2 separate regions of the Homo sapiens genome follow, and region 2 is linked to region 1. Evidence: promoter capture Hi-C in 16 types of primary human blood cells and fetal thymus (Javierre and others, 2016). All regions are on one chromosome and are shown on one strand. Each heading gives the region's core, a stretch centred on a gene start or on the middle of the fragment in contact. The rest is flanking DNA. Distances are from core to core; before and after follow the strand shown. Region 1 holds the start of SLC4A4 (solute carrier family 4 member 4). Region 2 overlaps ADAMTS3 (ADAM metallopeptidase with thrombospondin type 1 motif 3).

Region 1 (2,714 bases), core at 96-2,595:
CAGTGATGTCCACATACACATTACATATAATATGTATTACTAGAAAATGATATACACTTGCATGATATACCATGTGGTTGCAATCCATTAAGTGACTACTCTCTAGCAGTACCCAGAACAATAGATGGTGTGTCTGTGCTGACAGTCTGTTCATATCTTAATGGTTTACTTATGATTCAATAGTTTACCAATGGCAATGGTGCTGGATCACTGATATATTATTTGCTTGGCAAAGAGTACTTGAACCTCATTATTAGACTTAGGAACAGAATAAATACAAATAATCACTTTGCTAAGGCTGTTTTCCTAACTCCCAAGGAAGACAGAAAGGCATCAGTGACATAAGTGAAGGACACAGTTGACAACCACGTTATCTTCAGACATCTTTTGTTAAAGGTGAACAATTACTTAATACTGTGTTATGGCAGCACTCTATACGCCCCAAGTTTTATAAAGTAGAGTCAAGAGTGATCTGAGCTGGGAAACTCACGCAATTTTAGTTCTGCATGAAAGCACAGGCTCTCCCCACTGGGGAACTCTTTTGAGTAGGACAAAAAGCTGGACCTAGGACCCAGCCCAGGGCGTGAGAGAAAAGGAACCTGGGAGGCAAGAGCGGCCGGTCCGGAGCCGGGTCCTCCGCCAGCTCCGGGCGGGCGCTGCGCACAGAGCCCAAGCCCCCGGCGGAGGCGGCGCGGCTCGAGGCCCCTCCCCGCCGCCGATGCCCGGGCGGCTGACGCCGAGCAGCGGCCCGGAGCGGTGGGGGCCGGGCTGGCGGGCACGAGCGAGGGCAGGGCAGGGGGCCGGCCGAGGCCACTTACGGCTTTAAATATGGATCGCAGGCTCGCGCTCGCGGCACAGCCTCCGCCGCGGCCGCCTTCCGTGAGCCCCCGCACCCCGGCTTGCTCCCGAGGGGCGCCTGGGCTGGGCTCCACTGCTGCAGTGTTAGTTACTAGCAGGAACATCAGAGATCCCCATAAATATGCAGGAGCTGCAGGAGGCAAAGTAGAGTAGACGCCCGCGCTCTTACACACTCGCTCGCCGCGCACCACACAGGCTGTGTAGACATCCCCCCGCGCCACCTTTCCCCTTTCCTCGCGGGCCGTTCAGGTTGCAGTCCTGCCTGCTCCGAAGACCCTCCCGCCCCAGCGCCTTTGCCCCGCTCTCCCGCGCTCGCCTCTCTCCGGAGCGCGCACCCACCCAGGCGGCAAAGTTGTGACTACTTGGGCGCGGGTGACTGGCGCCCCGCTCGCTCCGCGCCCGGCGCAGACAACTTCCCGCGGCTCGGCCCCGCCGCGTCCCGGGCTCGCGCCTCCAGGGATTCCGCGGCCCCCCAGCCTCCAACCCCGGCGGCGCGCCGGGCAGCGCTTCGGTGGCGGCGGCGGCCGCGGTGGCAGCGAAGGCGGCGGCGGCGGCGGCAGTGGCAGTGGCCGCTGCAGCCCCACACTCCGCCGCCAAACTGGAGGAGCGACGGAAGCCAGACCCCAGGAGGTGAGCGCCCGGCCCCGGCAGCTGCCGGGAGGGTCGATGGGGTCCCTCGCTCCAAGGCGGAGGCGGGCGCGGGCCCGGGGGCCGATTCCGTAGGGCGCGCAGGCGGCCTCAGCGCGCTCCTGGGAGGGAGAGAGAGGTCAATTGCGGGCCGGGCATCCCCTGAGCTGGGCGCGGGCGGTGTGTGGAGGCTGCTTCCGCGGAAAAGTATTTTTTTTCCTTCTTAGGGTTTAGAGGAAGAGTTTGGGTGGTCTGCTTCTCCCTCACTGCTAAGTCCCCTGCGCGCAACTGGGCGTCTTTACGAGGACTGCGGGGCCAGTTCTGCGGCGGGCTGGGCTCGGGCTCAGTGACACGTGTGTTGCTGTGAGCCTGGGTGGTCGCCCTGTGACCAGGCACCTGCTTGAGAGGAACACATCCCTAAACCCATCACAGGGGGAGATTTGGGGACTCTTGGTGCTACCGAGGCCGCGGCCCCCACTTCACTGCCAGCTCCAGGACGGAGCATTTACATCTCTCCCTGGCACGCCAAAGGCGGGGGGTGAGTCAGGCAGATTCTCTGCAAGTGGCACACACACATTTATTTGCAATGGATTTGGCTAGGGGAGGCATAGGTTAAACTGGAATTTCTCTTGGCCAGCGACAACGGAGCTCTCCCTCAGGTACTGGGCAGCATGTGAGTCTTGGCAAAGAGAGGTGATTTCTTTTTTCTTAAGTGCATTTTACTCAGCCGTTGCCAGTCCGTTAATAAGTCACCAGAGGAAGGCAGGACCTGGGAACTACATCAGCAAACCGCAGCAAGCACCATAAAGACAAAAGTTCTTATAGAACAAAAAGAAAAACTTGAACTTGACGTGAAAGATGGAGGAAGCAGTTCTACCTCTCTTCTATCACTTTTTTCAGCGCCCTGTAAAACTGTTTTTTTCTATCCTTCCTTCCCTCTCAAGGCCCTACCTTCTCAGCATAATTGATCGCAGCAAGCTCTTTCCAACTTGACACTGAAGAGCAGCGACCCCTTTGGCTTACCCTCCCCATTTCTTTTCCTGGTTCGCTTCAGTGCCCTGGAAAGTTGCTCCTAATGAGAAATCAAGAACACTGGGCTGTACTAAACGCTCATTGTCTCAAATCCTGCAGCAGTTCCTTTCCTAAGAGACACTGTGTTGTACTGTATTTCTCTTTTTTCTTGTATCTTGGGACTTGGAGTTGTAATACTACCTGAATTAAATTAATTA
Region 2 (2,714 bases), core at 149-2,648, 1.1 Mb after region 1:
TAAAATGCTGGCTTAATGAGTAAAAAATAATGAATGGGATTTTAAATTTTAGATTTGTTTATCAGCATATAATGTTACATTAGAAAGCAAAATTTCATGTTACTACAATTATTGAAAATGTGTGAAAAACATGAGTAATTTTAATTAAATGTATTTATTCCTCTTGGGCTTTAAACTGGTCTATTTTTTCCAAGGACATTAATATGAATTCTAGGATGAAAAATAAGGGATTTTAAATGCTTGAGAGAGAACTATAGCTGACTGCTAGACTATTACGACATTTAGTAGTGAATATAAATTAAATGTGTTTAAAAATTCTATGAAACACCATAAAACAATGCACTTTTTAAAGTCACAACTGAAATAAAACAATTTGCTACAAATTTTCATGGAGTTGATACGTGATGTCTTAGCTTCAGAAATTATCTTAGTGTTCTTATAGGCCAAGGAATAAGTAAGTTATGTTTACACTTGTCTATACAATTTAAATGTAAACCTCTTTAAAGTGACATTTCCATGTAATCGTCTCATAAAAGAAAAAAAAATCTTCTTGTGGAAATTATAATCAGCTCTCCGTGGCAAATGGATCTGCATGTGCCAGTCAAAAACCTGACACATGTCAGATATTAGAATAATTTAAGATTAGATTAGTAAAATTCACCTGTGGTTGCTTTTCAAAGAATGTGAAATACAATAAAAATAAGGATACGTACAGTATTGGATCAATCAAAATATCAGAACTTATTTGTAAACATAAGTATGATGAATTTTTCTGATATTCCTTGATTTAGTGGATTTTATTAACATATTTATTTTCTTATTCCTTAGAGCAAAAAGTGTATAAGAAATATAAGCTTGTCAAATGATTTTTCCCTCATATAGTTAGGAACCAACCCCAGTTTCTATACAAAATTAAAGCTCTACTTTTTTTATGTTTCTTGTTTTAAAGTAAGCATAGTTGGGAGAAATGACCAAAAAAAACCTACATAACATTCAATTAATGCATTTATATATTATTTTGATTCTTACATATACGTATGCACATGTATGTACATATACATATGCACATGTACACACATATACACATGCACATGTACGCACATATACGCATGCACATCATGCACATGTACGCACATATACGTATGCACATGTACGTACATATACGTATGCACATGTATGTACATATACGTATGCACATATATGTGTACATATATACATATCTATATTTAGGATTTCTTTGACATTTCAATGTTTCAGTGCATGTTAAAGCAGAGACAGCAGACAGAAACACTTACCAAGAATATGAGGAGAAGCCTCGTCTTCTTGGATTAACACATGTCTAGCCCCAGGGGGTATATCAAACATCTTAAGGTACCCTTTGCATGTGTAGTAAATATTGTAGGAAGCAAAGAAGAAAACAAAAGCAACAACCATGGTTAGTTGAGCACTACATTCTTACTGCTTCTGCGTGCAGAAGAGGGCATCCATAAATTTAAAGAAGCAGTTTCGGAAATTAACTTCAAAGCATTGGTAGCTTTTGTGACATCCAACATGAAATTAGAGGCAACTTTTTTTTTTATTAAAGAGGGAAAAAAGTTAATCTTGTTACCAACGTATTAGTCACTTATCTTGCGTTGACCTTCAAATGATGTGAACAACAATTCAGGCAAATACTATACTTTCCTGTGTCCCTCTGTGTGATTCTAGTTTTCTAAACCATCCTTTTGAAGTGGAGTCAATTTTTAGTGAAAGTTCACTTAAGTTGTAAACTTTTTGGGATATGTTATCTGCTTACATGTTATTTTAAAAGTCTAAGAGGGAAGTATAGACAGCTAAACTTCTAATTATTAAAATATTTTCATATTTAAAGCCTTCTTTATTCTAAAGGAGTTACAACAGAAAAATCAGTGCTTTCATTTTTCTTGTGATCAGTATTAATTTTAAAGCTTTAGGCAAGTTTTATGATGGGACTATTTTAACCAAATCGACAACATGGATTTTAAACCACTTAGTTGGAAAATGTGTGCAAGATGTGTTATGCATTGCCTTTATATGCACCCTAACCTCAAAACCTCCTAAGCCAGAAATAAGAAAATCAATATGCTTAATAGGTTGCTTTGTGTTTTAAAATCATATATCATTCCTATTACTGTAAATGTCATATATCACATACTATGTTGATACTATCACATGTCCTAAAAATTATCTTACAATCATTTAGAATTAAGATTATGACCATAAATCATAAATATTATGACCTGACAATAGTCAGGTCAATTAGAACAGATGTTATACATCTCATTATCATACAAATAAATGAATATAAAATGATTATGTAACCTACACCTTCAATACATTATGAAACATCCAATACATATTCTATGGAGAATATTAACAGAAATCCAGTTATCAATCCACAATTATTGATGAAATAAGAAAAAACAAGTGTTTTTGTCATTTGTATATGTATAATAATATACACCTATGAATAGATTTACCTAAGTTTTTCACAATATTTATTAGTGTCCTAACTAAATAAAGTGGTCCTTTTGGGATCAGGGTGTTCAGCACTTTAGCCTGGGGTAAAGTCTAACACATGAAATGTACCATGTTTGCCTGAGTACACAGTGGCTAAAAGGAACATGCTTAAGATGCCAAGTACAGCAAAACAGCTTGATGCCATTTATGGATGCCCATCTTTCTGCAGTTTGCTA

The links. Contacts are between HindIII fragments. The CHiCAGO score rates a contact against its expected background, and 5 or more counts as called.
Region 2: a fragment that was not itself captured here is called in contact with the fragment with the promoter of SLC4A4 in region 1 in 2 of 17 cell types (monocytes and naive B cells); the score reaches 8.4 in monocytes.

Annotation. Positions count from the first base shown.
Region 1 is chr4:71,185,914-71,188,627 of GRCh38, forward strand. It overlaps SLC4A4 (solute carrier family 4 member 4), which reads left to right and starts at 1,346. Exons shown (of 26, transcript NM_001098484.3): 1 at 1,346-1,488. LOC124900712 (a long non-coding RNA gene) reads right to left here and starts at 611. Exons shown (of 2, transcript XR_007058133.1): 1 at 1-611. The HindIII fragment of the contact is 10,115 bases long and covers 1-2,714 here.
Region 2 is chr4:72,304,692-72,307,405 of GRCh38, forward strand. ADAMTS3 (ADAM metallopeptidase with thrombospondin type 1 motif 3) reads right to left here. Exons shown (of 22, transcript NM_014243.3): 16 at 1,296-1,376. Among named protein-coding and RNA genes, the nearest start is that of ADAMTS3, 260 kb to the right of the region's middle. The HindIII fragment of the contact is 1,092 bases long and covers 853-1,944 here.